Regions from separate parts of the Homo sapiens genome. Here regions 2, 3 and 4 are each linked to region 1. Evidence: promoter capture Hi-C in 16 types of primary human blood cells and fetal thymus (Javierre and others, 2016). All regions are on one chromosome and are shown on one strand. Each heading gives the region's core, a stretch centred on a gene start or on the middle of the fragment in contact. The rest is flanking DNA. Distances are from core to core; before and after follow the strand shown.

Region 1 (6,915 bases), core at 3,070-5,569:
TTGCTGCTGAATAGAGTGTTGTCTATTCTTAGTGTTGGTCTGAACTGCTGGGCTTCCTATCTGTATTGGAAACTGAGTCAAACAAGTATAGCCCTCTTCTTCCACCCAAAAATAGAGCTGTTTATCCCTCACCCCCTCCCACCCCCTCTGCTCAGGTGATGGGTACACCAAAATCTCAGAAATCATTACTAAAGAACTTATTCTTGTAACCAAACACCACCTGTTCCCCAAAAACCTATTTAAATTAAAAAAAATAGAGCTGTTTAATATAACAAATGTAGAATGAATGCAAAGAGAAAATGAATGCCTCTTGGGTACCAGCTGTGTGGCAAGCACTGTGCTGGCCCTTCATGGCAACTATGAGGAAACTGAGGTTGAAGACATTGTATCTCTTGTTTAAGATCTCACAGTACCAATTGACAGTTCTAGGATTTGTTCTATTCCAGAGCCTACAAGTTTTCCACCAATCTATGTTCCCTCCCTCAGCATAATTAATAATTGTTATACTATAAGGCTAAACTAAATTTATATCAAGATGTCCCAGAGAGTTATATCTTATTTGTTAACCATTAACTTTTCCCAATCAGACACTTAATGCAGCACTAGTTCCATCTTAAGACTAGAACAGAACACCATGGATGATGATTTTGAACCTCTTTTGGCCAGAAATGTGCCCAGAGTTCTAAACCTTGGACAGCTTTGCATCAAGACCTTTGGAGGCAGCTTTCACCTACTCATATACGTGATTCACCATCTCCATGGGGCCCTCTTTTCTTGATTATTAGGTCTGACTTTATTTACAGCTGAAATGTGATTCCCTTTTATGAAGATCATTTTTTATTCCAAAAAAGACCTTGGGTATTATGTCCTGTTCTCATGGTCAGAAATCTGAATGCTTCAATATACTGCATTTTGCTTTTCTTTCATAGCCAAATAAAAGAGAAAGACCACAGTTATACATAGTGTGTCAGTCTGGCTCACTCAGATTATGTTTGTAAAATTCCTTTTTCTATAGAGCTAATATTTACTCAGCACTGATGTCCCAGGCACCATATGGTATCCCAGGGACCATACTAAGCCCTTTCTATGGATGGTCTCTCTTAAGACTCAGAATAACCTTTTGTTTATAAACTGTCACATAGGAGGGTCAAACAACTCAGCCTGGTTCATACTGCCATCAAAAAGCAAAGCTGAGCTTCGAACCCAGGCTGTGTGTGCAAATCCCTGAGCTTTCAAACCACTGTGCATGCTGTCTCCCAACTCTTTGTTTTTTCTGTGCCTTTCTCTAGCCAGGAGGTTTTTCTCCACCTGCCCATTTATCTTCCATAATTCTTGCTCTTGGGACAGATGATTTCCAAGGTCCCTTCAAGTATTGAAATTCCATGACTGATTAAAAATTATAATGTATGCAGTTTGATTAATTTGCACTAATGCCTGAGTTCATTCACAATGTTAATTTCTTTACAAGGTTCCAACAGTTTTTTAACTTACAGATCTCCTTCTGATGTTAAAGGAATCATGCTGCTTTTCCTATAATAATATTTAAGTCCCCAGTTTTAAAAACATAAGGTTTAAAAATATATCTGAAAGGATTTTACCATGCATGCAACACACCAATTTTCCATATGGACCAAAATAGTCTTTTTAAGACCCTGTTCTCTCAGTTGTCTTTCCCAAGTCTCACAGATGCAGTGCTAATTGCATGCAGCTTCAGGTCCTTTATAACATGAGGTAACAATTTCAGTGTCTTGGGCTTGAATGCTGCATTTGTTAGACATGCCAGGCCTGGAATTGGTGTCAGCTCGTCAGGATGCTGAATCCACATGGAGAGCAACTCATCTGAACGTTGGGAAGCTTCCTGGAGAAACTCCTGTTGTGCTCCTCTCAGGCATGGCGTGAGAGCCAGTGGTGTGACTGGTTCCTTAGCTAGGATGCATCTTGGTCAGACTTGGCAGCACTGGGTGATGGCTCTTTGGGACCAGTGCAGGTATTTGAGTCTCTCTAGTCAAGTTGTACTTGTTGAAGAATGATTCCAGAAGTGACGTTTATTCACAGACCTACTACTTGGGCTACTTGGGCTAGCTCCAAGTGTCTGAGTGGCTCGGCGGCTGAAGGCAGACTGCACTTGGGACACATCTAAAATTCATTCTGACTGGATTGAGAAAACAAGGAGACCAAAAAGAAAAGAAGTGGCAGGATTCTGCAATCACATCTGTAACTGAGGAGCCACGGGATATAACTTTGGAGAATATCTTGACCTGATCTTGCTTTGCAGCTTGTCTGTAGTTCTAGTCTTTAGAGTCGCGGAAGCCTGAGTTCCCACCAAGCTCAGCTCTTAATGGCTGTGTGATAATGAAGACGTCACTTGATCTTCCTGAGCCTCAGTTTCTTCATCTGTAAATTGGGATGAGATACCTCCCTCATGGGTCTGTTGTGAGGACAACATGTGATGATCCTGCCAAAGCTCTCTAGGCACTCTGTGCTTAGCTGTGTGGCCAATGCACAGTCAGCAGCGACACGATGCTATTTTTACTGCCTTCTTTCCCTCTTTCCCCAAGAGGACACACTCCTCTAGAAAAATAAGGTTCATGCAAACCTGCACTTTAAGAGCATTTATACAGATGTGCACGATGCAGTGCATGTGTCTTGATGGGGCTTTGTTAAATTGAATTTTAAAATTGTGTTTTAAATATACTTAGGGAAGTACAGAAAGGTACCCCAGAACAGGTTGTTTTATAAAGACAACAATAATTTCTGAATTATTTTCATTTCAGCTTTTTATATACTGTGTAGTCACAAAATGAGAGACCCTCCCCCACTCACCCCACCCTCACAGCTCCCCAGAGGAACAATAGCCATGAGCAAACAGTGCTTGCCTCCTGACCTTCGGGTGTTTCTCCTAAAGGCTAGCTCATTTAAGGGCAGCAGTCAGGGGCTTGCTACTCTTCGCAGCCCTGTTTCTTTTCTTGTGATGAGAAGAAACAAGCCCAGGCTGACAGCTGGCCAAGACTTGAACTAGAATGTTGAAGTTGAAAAGTCAAAATGGGTCTGTGTCAAAGGACTAGCAGAGGGGAAGGGACTGTCCTCCGGGGAGCTGAGGAGTGAGGATGGTCCTCACCTCGATCCAGCGATCAAATTCCCCAAGTAAATCCATGTAAAACATGAACTGTGGCCAGCACTTGTTAAGCAAGGAATATTAAAAATCATTGTCATTACTGCTGCTATTATTGTTACAGGCTTGTTCCAAGACTCTGGGTTTTGGCTCAGCTTGTCTAAATGGTCTTCCATCTTAAGGAATCAAGGGGTAGATTTTGGAACCACTAGCTCCATAGCCAAAGAAGGAGCAATCCAGCAACTTAGGCATTGATTCCGCAAGCCGTCCCAGAGCCTCTGTGTAGTCCTTACTTTCCCTAAATTGCCATGACTAGCTGGCTCAAGTTAGGCCTTTCTAATTTACCTGGACCGTTGCTGTCTCCTGTGCACGGCTGCGGGGATGAGCACCTTGTTGTGCGTTCCTCCGCTGGGCTGACGGAAATGGTTTGCAGCCAGACTGCTACGCCACGCGGTCTGGCATTTAGTCCTCAGAAATCTGATTTAGAGAACGTATACATTGCATCACAATCTAGATTTCAGAGGAAAGTTTTGGATAGAATAACCCAGACCCAAGTCTGGGTAATTTAAAGCCTGGGTGAAATGGGGCAGAAAGAGCCCAGAATATACAGGTCTGAATCTTGGCTGGGGTGATGTGGAAGACTGGAGGCGCCAGACGGCTGGCCTCCCTCCAAGTGTTTACCATGCTGGTGCCATGGGGCTGGGGCTGGGCAGTCCATGTGCTCATTCTTCCCTTCTCTTCTCCTCCTCCTCCCCCTCCATCTCTCCTCCTCCTCCTCATGTTTTCTATAGGCTAGAGAAACTCAGGAACTACTGACCCACAGGGAAGGCAAGCGGAGATATGAGACGGAGGAATCAAACGCTGCCCTGGTGGAGGACGCTGTGGGTTTACAGTGGATGATTTCCTCTGCCTATGAGATAAAAGGGCTGGCTCTGTACTTTGAACCCCAGCCTCACCCACCTCTGCCTGGGTGTGGCTCTTACTCTCTGGAAGACTTACTCAGGGGAGAGGACAGGACAGTGTGAGGCTTGAATCTCCAGGAAATAGAGTCTGTGGGCAGCCATTGACTCCGAGTCAATGAGAACAAGGTGTGCTGTTTCCTCTGTGCTGTTTCTTCCCTGCCCCACTCCCCGCCCCTTTGTCCTATGGTGCCCAGGCTGCCTGCACTGCCCAGATACCACAGGCCTTGCCAGGGACCTCCTGAGAGGTTTCTGAGGCTTGCAGCCAGTGGTCCCGTTAGTCTGCACGTCTCCGAGTTGCCCTCCCAGAGGAGAAAGCATATGCTGCTGGGACCGACTGCAGCTCCTCATGGATGCACCTGCCACCAGAAAATTGTTGTTCAGTCTGGGATTGCTTTCTCTTCCCAAAGCACAATCTCACATGCAGTCATGAGCCCAGTCCAGCCTCTGGGACAGAAGATTTCGTGCTTTTATAAACCAACAGCACTGCAGGTGCTGCACAAGGTAAGTGTCTCCCTTATTTCTTTCCCTCCCCGGAAGCCTCTGTATCAAACTAGGAGTTACCTTAATAGGGTCAAAGGAGGGTGTGGCTGTTTCACTTCCTGTTGTCAGCAGCCAAGTGTGCCTGAGGACAGAGGGTGGTGGGCAGGCATCCATTATGTGTAGGGAGGCAGGTATTGTACTGCTCTGGAACACACTGAGGAAGGGGGGTGCTCTGGCTTCCCTGACACCACCTCCCTGGTCAGGCTGCCGCAAGGCACCCAGATGTCAGTTGTCTTCCCACAACCTAATCATTCACAGCTGCTCCAGGGCCACACTTAGGATCTCTTTCCAGCGGTCCTCTTAGTCTGCCCCAGGGGCATGGCAAAGGAGGGCCTTTCATCCAGGGATCTCACACTCACAGAGACTTCACATTTGGATTTTTAAAAATTTATCTCTGAAGATATGCTAATAAGACTGAAAAGATGGAAATGATCATCAGCTTTAAACTTATGCCTGATTTTGGTACCAGGCCCATGAATTTTTAAGATTAATCCTGCCATTATCCCGTGAATAGGATGGTTATATTACCCTGTGCGTTTTTTTTTTAAAGCTTACACGTGTTAAAGCCTTAATTTATTAAATGTAAACTTCTAAAATATAGTATATCACAATTTTTGAAACCCTATTTGGGGATTTCTTCATTTTAATATACCTGAAGCCTCAGATAATGGGCGTGTCCCTGGTCTTTGTCCTCCAAGCGGCCCATTGGCCACTCCCCTCTTGATGGACTGTGGAGAGAAGCTGTTCCCTTTCCACGTGGTCATTTCAACTTCAGAAAAATCTCAGGTGCAATTGCCTGTTTCATTACAGCAGCTAGCCTATAATGAAAGAGGCCTTCGAAGCTTAGGCATGCCCAGTTTGGCCCCTTTCTTCATTTTACACACTGTTTTCTCCTCCCACAGGAAGGCTTCTCTCTACGGGGCTCAAAGCTACAGGCTCTCCACCATAGGGAAAATGGCCGACTAATATTCTTGAGTTCTTTACCCTTAGGCAATGGGGCTCAACTGTGACTGCACATTGGAATCAGTGGAGAGTTTTCCAAACATCCATCCGATGCCTGGGTTCTACCCCCACAGAACCTGATTTACTTGACCTGGGGTGTGGCCTGGGCATTGGAATTTTTTAAAGCACCCCACATGATTTTAATACACTACAAAGTTTCAGAAACAGTGCCCTAAGACCCTGGTTCTCAAACATTAGAATTCATCAGAATAATGTCCTCGTGGGGAGGGTCTTGTTAAAGCATAGATTGCTGGGCACAGTTTCTGATTCAGAGTTTCTGGATGGTACCTGGTAATCTGCATTTCTAATGAGTTCCCAGGTGATGCGATGCTGCTGTTCTGGGGATCATGTATTTACAACAGTTGTGCTAAAAGAAAGACAGTTAGAGTGGTGGGTTGGGAGGAGAAATGTGAGTGAATGCATGAAAATGTAGTTATTTCTTATTCTCAACCTCTGCAGTTGGCTTCAGAGTCAGGGACACCCCTAAATTACAGCAGTTACAGAGTATATTGGTCACCAAAGCTGCCACTGTGCAGAGACCCAAGCTAGGATAGAGCTGAGCCCCAGCAGCTGGACCCTGGTTGGTGGGGTAAGGCATGGTCTGAAACAGTCTGGGGCTACAGATCAGCTCTGTCCAGTGAGAATATAATACAGGGCACAAGGGTGAGTCACTTATGTAACTTCATATATTATAACCACATTGAAAAAACTAGAAACAGGTGAGATTAATTTTAATAATCTATATTATTTAACTTAACCCTCCAAAATCTTATTTTAACAGTCATCAACATAAAAAATGATTAATGAGATATTTGGCATTCCTTTTTCATGCTAAGTCTTTGGAATCGTACATGTGTTTTACACTTACAGCACATCTCAATTCACACCAGCCACATTTCAATGGCCACACGTGGACAGTGCCAGCCTGGATAGACCTAAGTACTGGGGCCGTCTGCCCCTGACGTAGGACTGATCACAAAGGTCCTCACTTCTCCCGGCAGCACATGGCCCCTCCTTCCATGCCTCTCAGAGCTCTTGGAATCTGTTCTCAGCATCTGAGAATCCCTCTGGCGTTCTTTACCATCGGTGCTTTGGACAGCACAAAAGGTTAACCAGGTTTAGTCAGGTCTGCAGGGCTTGTTCCCTCATGTCTGTGCATCTGAGGTCAGAATCTGAGAGGTTTTCATAGCCACTCCCACTCTCTTTCCTGACTTCACCATCTATAGAGATGAGTTCAGCGCCGGGTTTTTGTTGGAGAGAAATGGGTGTCTGAAATGGATTGAGGAAGAGAGTGAGGGG
Region 2 (6,915 bases), core at 1,759-4,258, 610 kb after region 1:
AGTCTTGCTCTGTCACCCAGGCTGGAGTGCAGTGGCACGGTCTCAGCTCACTGCACCTCCGCCTCCTGGGTCTCCTGGGTTCAAGCCATTCTCCTGCCTCAGCCTCCCCAGTAGCTGGGATTACAGGCACCCACCACCATGCCCAGCTAATTTTTGTATTTTTTTTAGTAGAAACGGGGTTTCATCACGTTGGCCAGACTGGTCTCGAACTTCTGACCTTGTGATCCACTTGCCTTGGCCTCCCGAAGTGCTGTGATTACAGGCGTGAGCCACCGCGCCTGGCCAAGATTTCTTTATTCTTTGGGAAAATTGATTTTTGGATAATATATTCACATGGTTTTAAATCATAGACATTTAAAAATACTCAGTAAATCCCCCTCTCATCCTTATCACTCCATCTTGAATTCTCACTTCACCATATGTGATCACTATTGTTTTTAGTACTTACATATTTTTTAAGAAGGCCTTTACATATATAAGCCAATGAAAACAAAAATTTTAAGGCAATATTTTTAAAACTGGGGAATCAGTTGTAACCATTCCCTTTCCACAAATAAAAACTCCTAGTAAACTCTGAGTTCCCAAGGGATGGTCTGTTCCCAATCTTTTTCTGAGGGTTGAGGGGATTTTGCTTAACTCTGGCTGATTTACCCAGAACCCATTGTGTGAATAAATTACTAGAGCATCTTAGGTCTGAGTGCTCAACACCTACGGGAACTTCTCAAGGCCTAAAATTCAAAGCCAGAAGCGAAGTCAAGTAATGGAAACAGACACATTTGTTCCGATACATTCAAGAAATAGAATAAAAGCAATAAGGAGATAAAAGGGAAGAATATATCTGGAACAGATGAAATCAAACAGAATGGTGAAAAATTAACTTAGCATGATACCTGGACATATGTGGTATAAGTAATAGGGATTGGCAAATTATGGCCTGTGAGCCAAATGTGGCCCAATACCTGCTTTTTAAAATATTATTTTATTGGAACTCAGCCATGGTGTTTGTCTGTGGCTGCTTTTGTATTTCAGTGACAGAGTTGAATAGTTGTGACAGAGACCATGTGGCCTAAAAAGATTAAAGATTTACTCTCTTGCCTTTTACAGAACAAATTTGCTGACCCCTGCTCTTGAGTAAGGAAGAAGAGAGGGAGATAATTTCTGATCAGCATCTACTGTGTGCCAGGATCTGAAGTAGATTCTTTCATTTAATTTATATAACAAGCATATGGAAGAGCTGTTATTGGTCTCATTTTACAGATGAGGACTCCAGGCTTAAATGCAAATGACTTGCTCAGGGTCATAATGCTGCAAAGTGTGAGAGCTGGTATTCCAGCTGGGATGCCAGAGCTAACTTGGTTTTCTCCATGAGATATAGTCAAATGCCAGGGAATTTAGACAATAATCACATATGCAAATAAAATCGATTTATGAAGCCCACAGACCACTACTAGATTAGTAAATGAACAGTGTGACTTCTTCCTCATGACCTGAAGAGAGATGAACTGGTTGGTAAGTAGCCACTTGTATAAGGTGGGTAATTATTGATGCTGGGTTAACAGCTGTATAATTCCTATGGGAGCTGACAGAAAGCAGCACAGGGTATGCCATCTCAGTGAAGCATTTCAGGAGATCTGTCCTTTGGGATATAGCGCATGGTCCGCCTCTCACATTTTGGGCTTCCTGCTGCCATTAAATTCTCAAAACTTGTCCTGGAAGATACGACTTAGTCAAGTTGGACTCAGTGATACAGAATCGATGGATGCATGACATAGCTGAGCCTGTTTGTCCACAAGAGATGTAAATGTCTTCATATGCCAAATTAGAGCATCTTGATTATAGTTCAATGACTTAGCTGTTGTATTTTGTCCTAGAGACATCTATAATCTAATTTAACAAACTTCTTCGGTGCCAGCTAAGGATGTCCTTGCACATAAGTTATCTTGGACTCATGGCAGCAAATATTTAGCTGAGTTCTTCCTCTTTGTAACTAGACTGTAAAATTGCAATCAAGTATGCTCCCAGTTTTGTGGTAGCAGCACAAATGTGGCTACCATTGCACTTGCTAGAGATGGAGCTGGGAAGTGGTGGTTAGTACCTGTGTATAATGAAGGTAGAGAAGTTTTTCCCCCGAGATTAACTTGGCACTCATTTTTACATTTCTTTTCCAAGAGGTAGAATGGGTCCAGAGGAACGCATCCTAGCATTCATACTGATGATAGCAGCCATTAAGAAGTATCATGTCCTTCTGAGTTTTCTTTATTGTGGTAAAAATATGATATAACAAAATGTGCTATCTTAACCATTTTTTAAGTGCACAGTTTAAGAATATTTGCATGGTTGTAAAACAGATCTCCAGAACGTTTTCATCTTGCAAACCTGAAACTCTATACCCATTAAATAACAACTCCCCTTTCCCTCTCCCTGCTGTCCTCGGGTAACCAACATTCTACTTTCTATCTCCATAATTTTGACTGTTCTAAGTATCTCCTCTAAGTGGAATCATATAGTATTTTTCTTTTTGTGACTGGCTTGTTTGACTTAGCATGTCCTTAAGGTTCATCCATGTTGTAGCATGTGACAGGATTTCTTTCCTTTTTAGGGCTGAATAATATTCTATTATGTGTTTATTCAACATTTTGTTTATCCATTCATCTGCCAGTGGACAATCTGGGTTGCTTCCACCTTTGGCTATTGTGAATAATGCTGCTGTGAACATGGGTGTACAATTATCTCTTCAAGACCCTGCTTTCAGTTCTTTTGGGTATATACCCAAAAATTGGATTGCTGGATGTTTTTTTTTTTTGAGGATCATGTATATTTTTTGAGGAATCTCCATGCTATTTTTCAAAGTAGTTACACCATTTTACAATCCCACCAACAGAGTACAGAGTTCCAGTTTCCCCACATCCTTGCCAATACTTGTTACTTTCTAGGTTTTTTTAAACAAAAATAGTAGCCATTGTAGTGGGTGTAAGGTGATAGATCATTGTGGTTTTGATTTCCACTTCTCTGATGAATAATGATGTTCAGCATCTTTCCATATACTTGTTGGCTATTTGTATATCATCTTTGGAGAAATGTCACATCCATTACCCATATTTTAATAGCGTTATTTGAGTTTTGTTGTTCAGTTGTAGGAGTTCGTTATATATTCTTTTTTTGTTTTTTTAATTGAGACAGGGTCTTGCTCTGTCACCTAGCCTGGAGTGCAGTGGCATGATCACAGCTCACTGTGGCCTTGACCTCCCAGGCTCAATCGATCCACCTGCCTCAGTCTCCTGAGTAGCTGGGACTACAGGCATGCGCCACCACACCTGGCTAATTTTTGCATTTTTTGTAGAGGCAGGGTTTTACTCTGTTGCCCAGGCTGGTCTCAAACTCCTGGGCTCAAGCAATCCACCTGCCTCAACCTCCCAAAGTGCTGGGATTGCAGGCATAAGCCCCCGCACCTAGCCCATTCTGACTATTAACACCTTATTATATGTATGATTTGCAAATTATTTTCTCCCATTCTGTAGCCTATTTACTCTGTTGGTGGTGTCCTTTGATGCATCAAGTTTTTAAGTTTGATGTAGTTTCATTTATCTATCTTTGCTTTTGTTGCCTGTGGTTTTGGTGCCATAACCGAGAATTCACTGCCAAGCCCAACATCATGAAGTTTTTCCTCAGTGTTTTCTTCCAGGAGGTTTATCATTTTGGGTCTTATGTTTAGGTCTTTGAGTTCTCTCTCTCTCTTTTTTTTTTAAATTTCAATGTAGTTCCCACCCATATTTTAAGGGTCTCACTCTTGGCTTTCTTTTAGGATAAGACACAGCTACAAGGCTAAGACCAAGTCATCTTCTGGAATTTGTCTTGGAAAAAAAAAATACTTTTGAGAGCCCTTTTTTTGTTCTTGTTGGTTTGTTTTTGTTTTTTGAGACAGGGTCTCACTCTGTCATCCAGGCTGGAATGTGGTGGCGTGATGATAGCTCACGTCAAGTCTCCACCTCCTGGAGCTTAGTTGATCTTCCCACCTCAGCCTACCCAGTAGCTGGGACTACAGGTACACACCATCATGCCTGGATAATTTTCATATTAATTTTAGTATTTTTTGTAGAGACAACATTTCACCATGTGCCCAGGCTGGTGTCGAACTCCTTGGCTCAAGCCATCCTCCATCTTGGCCTCCTAAAGTGCTGGGATTATGGACAGGAGCCGCCGCATGGCCCATTATAGCCTACTCTTTTAAAAAAAGTCCTGTCTAGCCATTATTTACTGGATTTGAGATTCAAATAAGTCCCATTTGAAACACAGCTGTATCCTTTTTTATTCACCCACAGAGTAACTTGCAATCACGATTCTGCTATAAATTCAATTCTTACTTGCCTTTGATGTTTCTTTTATACCCACCATGCACCAGTGTTCCTAGTGTTGATGGAGTGGTAGTGTGCTCTACACTACTTGGATGTTGATAATGATCTCTTATGAGTATCCTTATCAGGAAGCGTCTTGAGGCTATGGAATTCCACTTTTCTTCACTGGCATTCCATTTTGCATGTGCCTTTCCCTTATGCTAACTTTTTCATTCACAGTTGCTAGTCCTCCTCTTGTCTCTGTATTCTCTCTTCCTTTTATCTTCTTTCCCATTGCTTTTCTTTACTTTTCTTCTGGATCTAGTTTTCACTCTCTGTCACCCATTTTTTTTTAACTTTCCTTCCTTGAGAGTATCTTCTACTTTCTTCCTCTAGTGTTGTCCTAGAGACTTTCAGATTCCAAATATGATGACACTATGAGTTGTCTCTTCATTACCATTCAAACTGGAGCCCTTGATCTTTTCAGTGCATTTCTGAATCTTTGAAATATGTATCCAAAAAGTCAAGGAATTGTTTAGATACAAGAATAAAGAAAACTAGGATTTAGTTAAATACCAAGGAAAAAGCCAGATTCTTAAAGAATTGGGTAGGTTCAGTTTTGTAATTAAAATGAGAAGATTCAAGAATCCTAAAGGATCACAGATTGAACATGAGTTGACAGTGCACATAATTATTAAACAAAAAGTATAGAAGTTTAATACTGTAGAAACTCTGAATACTTTTTAATTTTTATGATGCACAATCTAAAATTTTGTTTTAGGTCCTGGATGTAGTACTTGAGGTAGATATGGCAACATAATTCAAGGCTCTGTGTCTGTTACATAAGACAATATTTGGTAAGTGCCAAGGGAAAATTCATGCAGTGGGAGAACAGAAAAAAGAAGATAATACAAATGTAGCTTGATGAAGCATCACAGGAGAGGGAATACTTGATCTGGGCCTTGAATGATGAGTAGAATTTATATAGCAGAGATGAGGAGGCATAATGTTAGTGACAGGAACTTGTGCATATGCCAGGGTGGAGGGCAAGAATATTCAAGGTATGTTTGGGTGATAGTTAAGAGAAATCGTTGGTGTTTTGGAGTATAGGCTAAGCCACTATAAACAAAGAGACCCCAAAATACAATAAGATAGAAGTCTCTTTCTCTTTTACCTAGAGGCAGACAGTCGAGGGAAGATAGAGGTCGTCCTGAGGTCCAGGTTGCTTCTCCCTCTTGCTCTTCTATGGCTCACCACCAATACCATGTCTGCATTCCAGCTCACAAGAAGGGGAAAATGGAGGGCAGCCACCTTTCTTCTTATGGATACGACTTAGAAGTTACACATGCCACTTTTGCTCGCATCCCACTGGCCCACTTTGTCACATAGCATTACCTGACCTCAAAGGCGTTTTGGAAATTAGCCTCTAAGCTATGAATATTGGGAGGAAGGTGTCTCGTAAACTAACTACTAGTTAGAAATAACTTTGTTAGAGGAAGGTGAATGTGAAGTTAGAAAGAATAGGGCCAAGATATGAGGGACTTTGAATTCCAAGTGTTTGCATAGCATAGACACAAAATCAATACTATTGAATGCATGAATAAATGAGTAGTTAAGGGAATGAGTAAGTGAACGTATCATTGAGTTTGAACTTTATTCTCTAGATCAGGGCTACAAACTAAAATTAAGAGGCCAGGAAGATAGTATAAATGAATCATAAAGCCAGCTGTAAATGGGGAGTGATGGGACTGAATCACCTGGAAGATATGTGACATGTCTTAAGGGCAGCCACTACTCAGCTCCAGCTGATAGTTGCATGGGAATGTGGGCCATTTGTGCCAAGATTTTGGAATTTTTAAAAAGAAGGAAGAAATCTGGGTTTTATGTGACATCTCCCAATTTTTAGATGTTGGATCTGAACAATTTTTAAATAGGTCAAATAAAAACACATCTTTGGGATAGTTTGGACTTTAAGTCACTAATTCGCAATCTTTGCGAAGATGGGAAACTACTTAAAATGTTTGGCCCAGAGAGTTGGTAGTTTAAGAAGGTTAATCTGACTGTGGTATGCTGGGCACACCTCTAGCAGTAATTTTCAACTGTGACTGCAAATTACAATCACTGGGAAGCTTTAAAAAAATAAAAAAACCTCTTTATCCACCCCAGACCAATTAAATCAGAATCCCTGGGGTTGGGTATTTTTTAAGTTCTTCAAGCAATTGTAATGTACAGTTGCGGTTGGGAGGTAGTCCTCTAAGCCTAATCTTTTTTTTTTTTTTTTTTTTTAAGGCAGAGTCTTGCTCTGTTGCCAGGCTGGAGGGCAGTGGTGCAATCTCCTCTAAGCCTAATCTTAAGGGTTATTGAAATAGCCTAGACATGTGGTAAAAGGGTCTGAACTGTGGGTCTGGAAGCTGACTGAAGAAAGAAATAGATAGGTGGGAGATATTATAAAGGGCAAATTGATAAAATTTTGTGGCTGTTTTAAATAGGAGAGTAGAAGAGGAAAGGAGTCAAAAAGAGTTGAAATTTCAAGCTGAAATTTGGGGGCTGGGAGATATAAGGAATTTAACAAATGTCTCCAAGG
Region 3 (6,915 bases), core at 1,555-4,054, 550 kb after region 1:
CACTGGGACTTCCTGGGGAATGATGCACTATGTGACTGGATACTGCAGTCGGAATCTGAAATTGCTCCGTAAAACAGCTGTCCAAGTCACTTGCATGCCTCTCTTGAATTCTATGCTCCCTAACAATCCACATCTCTAACAAAACTGTCATAGTTCTATGTTTATTAGTGATGGGTCTAAGCTCTCTGTGGGTTTTTAAAGATAGGTGTATAACTTCAGTGTTTCCCGTCAGCTAAAGTAAACTACACCCCATGTTGTGGGGTGTTGAGGAAGCACTGCACACAGATTGTAAGCTTTACATGTGAGCTTTCTATTGTAACCAAGCAACTGACACATTAGACACCCCTTTGCCATCAGCTTACATTCTCTGAGAACTTAGGTCAGTGCCTAAAATAACCCTGTTAATTGTGGGGGCACATGTGGAATGAAATTCCACTTAGCAGTCTGGGAGCTGAGTGACTGAGGATTTGAAACCTTGCTATAGTTACAGTTCATAACAAGTGTCTAGGCAGTTAGACCTTAAGTGTTCAGGTATGGAAAGAAAGTCATATGTTATGTTTTAGATTCTGTTTGTAAAGCTGGTTAACTAGAGACAGCTGATGAAAAACCAAATCGACTTGAGTTACAAGATCTGGGCTTTCTCTGCTCTGCTTTCAACCTGTTGGTTGGTGGTGGAGTAGCTGACAGAAGCGAATGGCTTGGCTGAGGGACATGAAGTGACAGCAGCCTGTTTAGGACCACACCACATTTTGGACCTCTTGCTGTGCAGTTCAGGTAGGCTGTTGTTTATCTGGCATTCCTTATAAGACTGACAGAAGTCATTAAACTGTTCAGTTTCAGAGTTGGGCATGAGAATCTCAAGCCTCTCTCCTGCACATAGCACGTTTATGTTAGTGGACACTGCTTCACTCCCTAACTAGACAGTATGCCAAATGAACGTCTTCGTATTGTTGTTACCCAAGTTCACTTAAATTCTAGGACATAAGGGAGGCTGAGAGCATTCACACAAAGTGCGACTTATCTGGCGCGTGGTAAAATGCATCTTTAAAATTTACCTTCCTCTTTTCTGTTTTATTTTCCTTATTCTTGTTCCAAAAGGCAGGCTTTTGTGTTTGTGGGAAACAGTGGGAGAAAATGTTAAGCCTGTTAGTATATTCCAGAACATATGGTTTTCTTATTTTTTTAAACTGCTTAATAGGGTCTGGGTTTTATTTGAAGAGTAAGATGAAAATCAACACTACTCTTTTCCAAATAAACTCAGTTAAACTACTGTTTGTGCCCGTATCAGTGTAAGTAACATAAATTGCTGCAATATTGTTGTTCTTCTTACCCCAATGTTGACCTGTATTATAAAGTATCAAATTTAGTTTTGGCTTCAAGTATCTGGCACATAAAGTAAGTATACAAATGCTGTATAATAAGTATGTGAATGCTGTAAATGATGCTTTGGGACTTCTACCTGATTAGGTTATTTAATCCAGCATTTATTCAAACTTATACCTCATGTCACATGACAGACATATTCCTAAAACATGTAAATCAGGTTTTGTAATTAGAATGACTTAACACATACTTGGAAAGCTGATCACTTTTAAGGAATCTATGTATAAAATGAATAGAGAGTTACAACTAAATTTATGCTTTGATGGTTCTTTTTTGCATGTCAGGTTCTTAAATTGAGATTCACTGATGGTGCATAACTTTGGATAAGTTTCTCAGGAACAAAAACTGCATTTTTATGATCTTGAAGTATACACACAGATGTACATGTATATGTACATGTGTATATATATGTATATTATATGATCACATGAAGCCCTTGGGGGTCCTTAGAAGGATGTCTAAGGGGATTTGGGAGTGGCCTATTGATATATTGGATGTTAAATTGTGCCTTCGGTGGAGAAAGATTTTCTGGAGAGAAGGGTCATGGTCTGAGACTTGAGATTAAAAAAAAAAAGTTGAAAAGAATATTTTCCTACTGTTTGTATATTAATGTCACTAATATACTTGAAAAGCTGCAGTATTATTACCCATCTAACATATTGTTAATGTATTGCAGCCTCAGGAATTATTAGCTTGAACCATATGAAATTGCCAATATTTGACAATTTTTGACCTATAAAAATGGCAATTTTGTATGGCTCAACCTAGTTATTTAATGAACATTAACTCATATTAATGAAAGGTTAGCCTTAAGTGCCCAACAGTAGTCGTATGAACCAAATATATTCTTATAATTGAAGTATGAGAGCTGTCTAGTTAAAAAGTAGATCATCCAGAGTTACTTCCTGTGAATAAATCCAGTATGCATGTGTTATGTCCTTCTTTTAATTCTTAACTTCTTTGTTTGGTCTCTTAAAAAGAACTTATGTTTCTGCCAAGTGCTGCCTACGGTGTTTTTGAGATCCGGAGACCGTGGGCATACATCCTCAATGGCTGGGAGTTGATATTTAGCAGGATTTGGGGGTTATCTTTGAGAAAGTTCATCCTCTGGATAGCTTGCCAGTAATCGAATGTGTGTCACAGTGTTAGGGTCTCTCTATGCATAGTATCTTAGTGTTCTTTTTCCTTTTCTAGAGTGAAATCTGAAGTCATTGATTTGAAACCTTTCCTCATGTTTATATAGGTGTTTGGTGCTATAAATTATCTCCTAAGTCCTGCTTTTAGTGAGAATCTCATGTTGTATGTTTGTTTTCATTCATTTAAAATGCTTTCTCATTTACATTTTGACTTTCTTGACTCATGGAGTATTTAGAAGTGCATTATTTCTTTTCTAAGTATTTGGGGATTTTCCAAAAGTCTTTCTATAATTCAGTTGTGGTCAGAGAACATACTTTTTATAAGTTGAATCTTTTAAAATTTATTGAGACTCATTTTATGATCATAGTCTATCTTGGGAAATGTTCCATAGACACTTGAAAAGAATGTATTCTACTGTTTTAGTAGAAAAGAAAGTATTCTACTGTTTTGGTTGACTCTCCTAATTTACCTAAAATGGCACTAGGTCAAGTTGGTTGCTAGTGTTGTTCACATCTTCTCTCTATGCCCTTAGTGATTTTATATATATATATATTTTTTTCCAATCAATTTTTGAAAGAGGGGCATTAAAATCTCCAATTAAAATTGTGAATTTGTCTGTTTCTCCTTGAAGTTCTTTCAGTTTTTGCTATATGTATTTTGAAGCTGTCTCATTAGGTGAATTAACATTTAGGATTGTTGTGCTCCTTGATGAACTCATCCCTTTATCATTATAAAATGATCCTTTTTATCCTTGGTTATAGTCTTTGCTCTGAAATTTACTTTTTCTCATGTCAATATAGCCATTTCAGCTTTCTTTGAAAGTCTTTTCTTTTTTAGGGAGTTTCAATCTAAGGTATTTATGTAAAAACTGTGAAACTAATTTATTAAAATACTTATTCGATTAATCAAGGTATAAGTAGAATTCACTGATAGTTTTCAGTCGTCCTTCTACAATTCCATTTCTACAATGTTATGGCTTTTATAGTCCTTCCTCCTCCATTGTCATGTGACTGTCATTTTACAGCCCACATAATGCAAGATTTTCATATACTTAACATTTAGCATGAAATGAGCACTGGCCAATTAGAATGAGTGCCAGATATAAAAGGTATGGCTTCACTGGTGCATGCTGGCTGAATATCAGTCCTGAATATATAACAATTAATGTCTCCTGAGTTAGGTGCAGGAGCCATTTTTTTCCAGTCATTCATATGAAACTCTAGCTTCTATAGATACCTTAAAAATTAAAATAATCTTTAACACTTAGAATTCTAAGCACTATTTAGTAATCAAATATATCAATATGTATATCAACATCTTAAGGCATGACTTCTTTATATTAAGGGAAAATTCCACAACAGAACTTATTTTAGATATTGGCCTTAAAACTTTTATTTTAGATATTGACTATTTTATGTAGCAAATATTTGTTCATTAATCCACCAGTTTGTTTGCTTTTTTTAATTGAGGCTTTCCTGTAGGTCAGCCATTGGGAATTCGAGGATGAGCAACACTACTTGGTCTTGCCCTTAAGAAACTACTGTAGTCAGGGAGCGAGAACTATTCCCAGTTCTGGTGCACTCAAGATATCATGTGGCAGAGGGGTAAGTGGGCGGGAGGGTGTAAGAGGACATCCCTTGGCCTCACAAGATCTCTCAAGGTGTAAGAGCCAAAAACAATTTAACTTCATTTACATATGTCCAAAAAGGTAGCAATTAATTTGTAATCTATACTTTGTTCCATTCATTGAGAAACTTCACTTACCTTGTAATCAGCATACCTTCAATAATTTTTTTTTTTTGGTCCATGTCTGGGGTTTTACTGGAACCCTTCCTTTGCTTTCCATACTCTATGTAGCACATACTACCTAGTGGAGTACTCACACATTGTTGGCACTCAGTAAATATTTGTTGAACAAATAAATGAATGAATATTTGCCCCTGGTACCATGGAGGATATAGGAAAAAATTGGAGCTGTTGTTCAGCCCTTTCATGAACTGGGTATTACCTGAAGAAAGTGAAGCATCTTGGCTGTTAGCAATGTTCAATTTCTTTATCAGAGTAGTGGTTACACATGTGTTCACCTTATGATTATTTGTTATGATTTATCAACTTTTATCAAGCTATATTTCACAACACAAAAACTTAAAACACATGATAAAAAATAAGTGTAACAGCAAAAAAAAAAAAAAAAAAAGAGAGAAAGAGTGGAAGAAGGAATTTTAATTTTTAAGCCTCCCAAAGTTCTGGGATAATAAGCATGAGCTACTGTGCCCAGCCTGGGCTGTCATTTTTTATACAATTAGGAAAGTTGTTCTGCTCCCTCCTTCAGTTTTGGATGATGTTTGATTTTAGTCTTATGTAGACAGATCTTTCTGTATTATAATTTACACTGTTTAGAAGATAAATATGGTAGATAATACAAAGCAGTGTTATTGTTGCTCAGAATAGAACTTGGATAACATTTTTGACACTGTAATAATAATATTAAATATCACTATTAATATATTACATGATGGTTGAGATATTTACATAATATTTATTAATCTTATCATTGGTATGTATTATAAAACTAAAAATGATACTGAATATTATTAATATATATTTTACATGTTTAATTTTTCAATCATTAATCACTTAAAAAGAGAGCGAGATTAGACACAGTATTAGTTTGTTACATGGTTTTTAACCTAAAACTCTGACAATTTTAGTTGATGAATACTCATTCATACCAAAGACCTATTATTAGGAATAGAACTTGTTAAATATGTACATATGTACCTGATTAAAAAAACTAAAGCTTTGCAGTAAGAATTTGTATTTGTATGTACCAAAACAATATATCTATATTTAGCTCTTATCTATAAAAATCTAATTGTAATTGATATGTCTAAGAAACACCCAAAACTCAGATTTTGATTCTTTTTTCCAGGATCTTTGTACTTTATCCAGTTAGACTAGGTCTTTACTTTCAAGAAAAGAGAGACGAGAAGAGGGAAGGAAAACTCACTTAACATGTTTCATCAGCATGATCCATGAAGTTATCAGCAGGAAATATAAACAGATTATTTTAAGCAATGATCTTGCTAACAAAATACTTGAATGTGCTTTGTAGAGAAGTAGTTACCCACACATAACCCATGACCTGTTCATTTGGCAGATTGCCATGAAGTATTTACTTGATAAGATTATTTATTGACATCTAGCTTAAAATGAATATTGCATTATGTCTGAATGTGATTCTTATTACAAGGACAGAGGGATAATACAATAGTGAACCAATGATCACTTCCTATACTTCTGTCACTCTGTGACGCTGAGCATACTTCCCCAGAGTCCCTGGTTGGAAGGAGGGCACACTTACTATATGGGATGCATAGGTGCCAATGGTTGAAGTTGTGTTCATGCAGCATATCTACCCAGAATTGGTATGGTGTTGCCAGTGTAGGTGCTAATACTACTTAGAATGGTGAAGATTTGAGTACAGAAGCTTCCCTGAGAAGTTCTGTACTTTAGTCTTAATTACCATATATGGGGAAAAGTCTGTATCAAAAGGGCTGTGTATTCTTGACTGATCTTTGTGTCTCCCAACCTTTTCTCTTTTTCTTTGCTAGTTATGCCAGATGTTTCTAGTGTCTACAGGTATGATGGTCATAGTCACCACCATATCATAAGATACCTTCCCCCATTCCCTTTATCCTGACTTGGTATAAACAAGTTCCTTTTTCCTTTACCTTAACTGGGGCAGGTATGTATACAGGGAACCTTCAAATGGACTCTTAAAGAACAAAGGTCAAGCCCTGAAGTTTCCCATTGCAAGTGCATTCTAGCCTGTGGCACACCAAAGTATTTGGAAAGCTCTGCTCTATCAGTTATTCAAGGACTGAGGTTCCTTCCCTCCTAAGCAACCCTGTCCAATAAAAATACAGTAGAAGCCACAAATGAATCATACTTGCGATTTTTAAATTTTCTAAATCAAGAAAGTAAAAACACAATAAATTTTAATATCTCTTATTTAACCCAATTTGTCCAAAATATTGTTTTAACATGTAATTAATATAAAATTATTAATAAACAATTTCAAATTCTTTTTTGCACACAAAGTTTTTGAAATCCAGTGTGTATCTTATACTTAGAATACATCTCAATTTGGACTAGCAAAAACATTTCAAGTGCTACCACATTGGACAGTACAGATCTAGAGGTTCATTTTTCTAGGACCTCAGAATCCTCGATCTTCAGAATCCAGTCAGCAGACAAGGAAAAGAGAGTACATAAAATATCTCAAAGGAAGTTTTAAGGATTCAACCTGGCACCAAAGTATATCACTTCTACCCACGTTCCATTGGCCAGTATTTAGTCCATATGACCTGATCTAACTAACTGCCCAGGGCA
Region 4 (6,915 bases), core at 2,109-4,608, 530 kb after region 1:
TCCCAGGAATCGGATTCTGAGGCTCTGAGATCTACATGCTGGAGGTTTATTGGGGTGAGTTCTTGGGAAAAGCACCTCTGAGAGGTGAGGGAAGTAAATCAACCAGAGAGAGGAGTTGAACTGCAGCTGTGACAGAGATGGCAGTATTCCTACCCAGAACTCTAAAGTGGCTCCCCTTTTCCCCCAGGCTTTATACCTCCTCCCATTTAGCAGACATGGGATGTGGAAAGCTCCCAGGGAAGGGCATGACCTTGGGTGAGGCAGCTGAGGGCAAGTCCCAGGGAGGGTCTCAGCTGAGAGCAATAAGCAGTCAACACTGCTTAGCAGGTGGGGTAAATAAGTGTCTTGATCATAAGGTGGGGTAGGAGGAGGGCAAGTATAAATGCTGTCCACCGCATTCAATAGAAGTGTTTTCTCTATTATTACTAAAGAATGGCTTGACCCAGAAAAGATCATGGTCTTTAGCCACAGAACTTAATTCTAGGAGAGGCGATATTACAGCAGACTGATCCCTGTAATGCAAATGGCAATGCCCCTCTTTGCTGAGAGGCATTGTGGAGAATGCATGAAAACATGGCAGTGATGTTGGCAGGGAGATGGCAACGAGGTTCTCTGCACCAACTGTCTCCTGCAGCTGGGAAAAGACACACAGCCTGGCTGCCAACTGTTGGGCTCATTGTGCTCTGGCTGAATTTAGTTCCCTCTTATGTCAGCTTGCAATTCTATGTTGAAGAAAATCGGTCTGGTCTGCCACCATCACCATCTCTTAGCAACTAAGAGAGATTGAAACAACAGCTGGGTAATTTGATATTGGGAACTTAAAGGTCGTGAAAATAGAATATAATGGCTGTTTGTATTAAAGGAAAAAAAAAGAGAAAATGATGTAATCCTAATGCTTAGAAATGTTTGGAATGCCACATGGGTTACAAAGAGTGAAAATCTAGTTTAAACTGGTTGGATTCTTTCTCTCTCAGAATGATTAAAGTTGAGCCCAGAAGCTCACCCAAACACACATATTTGCCTAAATATAAATCCCTGTGGAATGTTGGAGCTATAATGTGAAAAACAGTTTCTGTGTTTTTGTATTTTCTCTAAGACTGACCTACAGCTTTCTTATCACAAGTTTTGAAGCAATACTTATAACATAGATGATAATTTAGAGTTATTTTTTACTTTGCTTTTTGTGGGCAATGGGGATGGGGACTGCAGTGAAGATGGGAGAGAATGAGGTGTGGCCCTCAGACATAGTGCTGTGCAGGAAGCCTACTACTTCAGAGGCTGCCCACAGCCTCACATACAACAGGTAATAATAGAATTACATGTTTGAAAACTAGAAAATGAGAAGTAGAAGCCAGATGAAATTGTTAAAACAAGTTTTTCTTTTTTCCCTAGGGCCAGTGAGGAGACCATCTGTTTTTCAAATTAGAAAAGCCAGAAAATATAATGTTTGCTCTCAGAATGAGTCAAATGTCATACTCTAATGAAAATTCCAAAGCAGAAAGAGAGAAAGGAAGAAGAGCTTGAAATGCCAAATTAGTGGGGTGAGGTGCTTGCTGCTTGCATTCCTGCAGATCCAAGCATTTTGCAACTCTAGTAAACCTGCCAGGACAAGGTTCATTTGAAGGGGTGTGGATTACCGGGAGGTGCGGGGGGACTGACATTCTAGTGCTTTAGATGGTAGGTAACTGCCTGGTCTTGTTTCTCAGAATAACTTGTTCATCCACCACATATGTGGCTTTCATCCCAGCACATTGGGCAGGACACCACTGTTTTCTTCGTTTGGTTAATAGTTACACTTCCTTGACACCTCATACAGCTGGGTCATGGATCTGCTGCTGTTCTCAATGTGAGCATCACTGTCTTTTTTTCTTTTTCTTTTTCTTTTTTTGGGACAGGATCTCTGTCACCCAGGCTGGAGTGCGGTGGCACGATCTCAGCTCACTGCAGCCTCCACCTCCTGGGTTCAAGCGATTCTCCTGCCTCAGCCTCTCAAGTAGCTGGGATTACAGGCATGCACCACCGTGCCTGGCTAATTTTTGTATTTTTGGTAGAAACGGGGTTTCACTATGTTGGCCAGGCTGGTCTCAAACTCCTGATCTCAGGTGATCCACCCGCCTCGGCCTCCCAAAGTGCTGGGATTACAGGTGTGAGCCACGGTGCCCAGCCCACTGTCTTTTTTCATCAATGCTAAGAGAATTTAATTCTTTCCACATGAAGCGATTCTACTTCCTCAACACGTGTTTCGTTTTGTGACACAACAACTTGGAGGAGGTGAAATTCATTAACAAGGAATAAATATCTTCTCTTTATGGAGCCACTTCCTTAACCCCTCAAATCTTCCTAGACCACTTCCATCCAACGTAGAATAAGTGAACCATATGAAATTGCTGTTTTTGTGGGTCAAAGGCAATTGAATGGTAGTCTCACATGGTTCAACATCTGTATACAAGCAAGTTCTCTGATGAAAAAGCTGAGTGACTGCGAGTACCATTCTTAGAATTCTTTAGGAGAGAAGAAAGATTTCAAGGTAAACAATCTGACAAACTTATTTGTAATCAAACTAAATTCCAGGTGGGGCTGGCTTATAGTTCACACACATTAAAGAAATAGGGATTGAATCTTGCAGGAAACTAGCACTTTTCCCCAAGGGGGATGAGGATTTAAGTTTCCTTCATGGAATATGTTTCCAGTTCATTTGGTCCTGCATTTATTTTAGAAATTGTTTGATATTTGCACTTCACTCATTTTCCAAAATTTGTTCTGATTCCAGATTTCTCTGTTAAATTTCTATAAATTTGTTTATTTGCTATTTGCTTTGGAGAATAGGAATTATATGAATTTCTTGGCAAAACGGATGAAAATTCTAACCTACCATTCATTTGGGAGAGGTGTACATATGTTCACTTCCACAGCTGTAGCACATTTGTTCTCAGTTTTGTACTTTTGAGACACAGGAAGTATATTTCTTTAAATGTTCTCTCTGGAAATACATACGTAGAGCTACAGCCTGATGAACATTCCTTATACAAAGGAATGTACATCTCAGTGTAGTACTCGTCTATAATTTACTTTCAATGGTTTATGGATGTATAATAATCACAGTGAACCTTTGTTCAGCGCTTACTATATGTCAGATACTTTGCATGCACTATCATGTTTTGTCCTTATCCTGTGATGTGGGTCCTAGTCCTGACACACAACACAGGAAACTGAGGCACAGAGGTTAAGCTTCTCTTCCAAAGACCCACAGTTGTTATTATAATAATAATGCTAAGGCTGATGTTCAGGGCATCTCTAAAGCCTTCTGCTCTCTTATTTACAACACCATTCTACCTTCACATTGGCTACAGCTGATTCAGGCATCCCCTCCATTAATCCTTTTTAGTGAATGTTAGTTTTTGTTGTGGGTTCTTATTTTAAAGGTGATATTTTGGGCAAGATGTCTTGAAGGACTGATGGCAGGTGCATATTGACAATTCTATGCAGAGCAAAGCTTCCAAAAAGGCATGCTATGAATTCTGTCAATGTGGAAGATCGAGCAAAACCAGCTTCTCTTTGCAGCACTGGCATGCAACCAACCTGCTCACCTGCATCCTTACATCTTAATCTGATGAGCAGAGTCTGCAGACAGAAATCATTTTCAGCTCTTTTTTTTTTTTTTTTTTGAGACGGAGTCTCGCTGTGTCACCCAGGCTGGAGTGCAGTGGCTTATCTCTGCTCACTGCAAGCTCCGTCTCCTGGGTTCATGCCATTCTCCTGCCACAGCCTCCCAAGTAGCTGGGACTACAGGCGCCCGCCACCACGCCCGGCTAATTTTTTTGTATTTTTTTTTTAGTAGAGAAGGGGTTTCACCATGTTAGCCAGGATGGTCTCGATCTCCTGACCTCATGATCCGCCCGCCTCGGCCTCCCAAAGTGCTGGGATTACAGGCGTGAGCCACTGCGCCTGGCCTTCAGCTCTTTTAACTACTCATAAAAATGTTTTAAGTACATTTTTAACTAGCAGTACTTGTATAATATTATAATTATTATCTATTTGGTACCTTTAAATTTTCATGTTTATATGCAGAAATAAACAATATATTGTTCTTAAACATATTTTTGTGATATATTTTCTAGGACCTTATATTTATCAATTCAACAAATATTTAATGCCTACCATATGTCAAACTATTCTTGGCATAGCAGTAAACACAAGTGACAAAAATTCTGACCTCATGCTCTTAAAGTTTTTATAATGATTAGTTTTAAAAATCTTTATCCATAGAAGGCTAGGCAAGGAGGATGGATCTATATAGAAGCACTTCCTTACTGAGTTGAGAGGCTTGGGGAGAAATGCATAGTGCCTCCTTATTTGGAAGCCCCCAAAGTCATCTCAGACCCTACTTGGACATAAGTAAACAGCGAAGTAGGATCTGGAAGAGGTTTAAGTTGAACTTTCCTTGTGTGCATTATCCTCAAAGATATATTGCAATAAGATTTTTGTATAGAATGCAAGTCTCCTACTGGATTTTAGCCCTGTTTCCCATCGAATTTTATCTAGTCATATTTGACTTGTGTCAGATAAAGATTAAAACCTTCAGACACCGGGCCGCAAGTTGAAGATCTTTCTGAATCACAGTGCTAAAATAATAGGGAGGGATTTTCCGTAAGTGTTACCAAACTAAACTGGGATCCCCTTGCCTGGTGTAGCAAAGCCAAATACTGACATAGGGATTGCTGCAAGAGAAAGTGAAGCATTTATAGCAGGATGCCAAGCAAGGAGAATCAGCAGCTCACACTTAAGACCCAGCCTCCACAGTGGCTTACAAGTAAGGCCTTTTAAAGGTGAGGAGGCAGAGGTTATAGGCAAAGTCATCAATCAATACACAGAGGTTATACATTGGTTTGGCCTAAAGAGGTGGGATATCTTAAAGCGGGGTCTTACAAGTCATAGATAGATTCAAAGGTTTCCTGATTTGCAATTGGTTAAGGAGATGAAGCTTTATCTAAAAATTTGTGATCAGCAGAAAAGAAAGTTAGCTCTGGCTCATGGGTATGACCTCTTCCAGGCTCCTCAGGAAGAAATTTAGAACAAAGAACAGCAGTCAGAGTTCAGTCCTCAGTTCCCTTTTATCTGAGGTCTACATGCCAGTGGATCCATTTGGAAGGGGTCTGGGTTTCTGAAAAACAACTCACATTAAGATGTTATCTTTAATTTCTACAGGGAACATCTCATGACCCTAACTTCCTTGGCTATTGTTTTAAGCTACTGCTACCTTCTTGCTTACCAAGTTGCTCATTTACTTCTCAGGGCTAGCTAGGTGCCTGGAATTTCCATTGAAGGAGCTCCAGATCTTCCTTTATTTCCATGCCTGGCGGTGTTGAAGGGGTGTGGGAGAGAGGATAGCAGGCCCTTAAGAGGGGTCCTGGGTCCATCTTATACATAGAAGCAACTGAAGAGGAAAGCTGAGATTGGGGTTCGCAGTTCTCCCAAGCAGTGGCTGAGGCTGGCAGGTTGGAGCTCAACTCTTAGGCAACTTGGCTGTTATATGTATGTGAATGTCTGTCCTAACAAATGAATTTAGTGCTGCAATTTCAAGACGGTGTTGTATCACCGACTTGCAAAAATGCCTTCTGGCATATTTATTACTTTGGTTCCAAAAATCATATTTAGCCAGATCTTTTCAGTAATGAAGCATTTTTCTTTATAGCAATCTTGCTACAGCTGAGAGGCAATTTAGAATGGAGGTTAAGAGAGTTGATTCTTGGGGCCCAACTGTCTGGGTTCAGATTCCAGCTCCATTTCTTACAGGGTTACATAAAGCAGCTCACTGTGCCTCATTTTCTTCTTCTGTAAAATGATGGTCATGATAATAGCATCTACCTCATGGAGGTGCAATGAGCCTTAAGTTAGATAGTATTTGTGAAATTGCTTAAAATGATGCCTGGCCATAGTGAGCACTTTATAAATATAGCTAGAATGATGAGAGAGTCTTAGATTCTCCTGTCAACAGGCATTGCATGGCTGGGGTTGAGCCTCCCTAGTGAATCTTTCACATAGCTTGACAGACATAGTGGGCATCAGCCCTAAATGCCAAAAGCAAACTTGAAGATTCAGAGCAAAGGCATGTGCTGAGCATTTGCCTTGTATGGAGTTTTGGGTGCTCTTATTCAGTGATTAAGAGCCAACATTAGTGAATGTTGTTGCCAAGAAGTCACACACACACACACGTACGTGTGCCCACAAGCCAAGTCCCTGTGTGATTGCCATCAGATGTGTCAGGAAGACATCATGCCCAGATCTGTGAAACTATGGAATAGATGTCAGGGAAATGCGGGTCCATCTGCTAAACAGATGACTGAATGATTAAGTGAATAGTGAAAAGGAGAATTCCAAGCTCCAACTGGAGTCAAGATGTGAAGCAGCAGCAGTAACACTAACAGCCTGTGGGTGACAAGGATCAAAGATGGGCTAAATGTCTTCCGAGGGAAAACCAAATGTGGTAAAAGACACATCAGAGGAGACCTCTACCATAAAAAAAACAAAAATTTAATTCGATGCCAGAAAGAGATAATCAGCAAGGAGAAAACTAGATTTAGCCTGAAATATAGGTCTGCTCAAGGCTCGTCAGGGGAAAGAAGGTGAACATTCAGGTTGATTTTATAGAGAGCTCCTAGAACACATAAACTACATTGTGATGACTAAATATAAAGAAAGATGATTATCACTCTTTTAGGCAGGAAATGGGGATGGATAGAGACTGGCTGTGCAGATGGAGGAAGAGAAAATGGTTAGTGTGAGATAGGAAATGGAAGAGAAGCATAAACAGGATCCCTTGGTATAATGGCCAAGAATTCCTGATTTCTACTGTGTCCCCCCTTTGACTCAGAATAAAATTAGTATCCACAAAGAAAGAGATAGTCTTAAATTAGA

Evidence for each region. The method cuts DNA at HindIII sites, captures the fragments that hold promoters and counts their contacts. A CHiCAGO score of 5 or more calls a contact.
Region 2: a contact is called between a fragment that was not itself captured here and the fragment with the promoter of LINC02313 in region 1, in 1 of 17 cell types (M0 macrophages). The highest score is 6.0, in M0 macrophages.
Region 3: a contact is called between a fragment that was not itself captured here and the fragment with the promoter of LINC02313 in region 1, in 1 of 17 cell types (M0 macrophages). The highest score is 5.2, in M0 macrophages.
Region 4: a contact is called between a fragment that was not itself captured here and the fragment with the promoter of LINC02313 in region 1, in 4 of 17 cell types (megakaryocytes, M0 macrophages, M1 macrophages and 1 more). The highest score is 7.2, in megakaryocytes.

Annotation. Positions count from the first base shown.
Region 1 is chr14:31,940,534-31,947,448 of GRCh38, forward strand. LINC02313 (long intergenic non-protein coding RNA 2313) reads left to right here and starts at 4,320. Exons shown (of 2, transcript NR_146544.1): 1 at 4,320-4,575. RefSeq lists an enhancer at 3,602-4,801. The HindIII fragment of the contact is 3,310 bases long and covers 1,853-5,162 here.
Region 2 is chr14:32,553,188-32,560,102 of GRCh38, forward strand. All of the region lies in intron 4 of AKAP6 (A-kinase anchoring protein 6), which reads left to right. Among named protein-coding and RNA genes, the nearest start is that of AKAP6, 230 kb to the left of the region's middle. The HindIII fragment of the contact is 6,899 bases long and covers 1-6,458 here.
Region 3 is chr14:32,494,631-32,501,545 of GRCh38, forward strand. All of the region lies in intron 2 of AKAP6 (A-kinase anchoring protein 6), which reads left to right. Among named protein-coding and RNA genes, the nearest start is that of AKAP6, 170 kb to the left of the region's middle. The HindIII fragment of the contact is 5,027 bases long and covers 292-5,318 here.
Region 4 is chr14:32,472,032-32,478,946 of GRCh38, forward strand. The region is part of intron 2 of AKAP6 (A-kinase anchoring protein 6); the gene reads left to right. Among named protein-coding and RNA genes, the nearest start is that of AKAP6, 150 kb to the left of the region's middle. The HindIII fragment of the contact is 265 bases long and covers 3,227-3,491 here.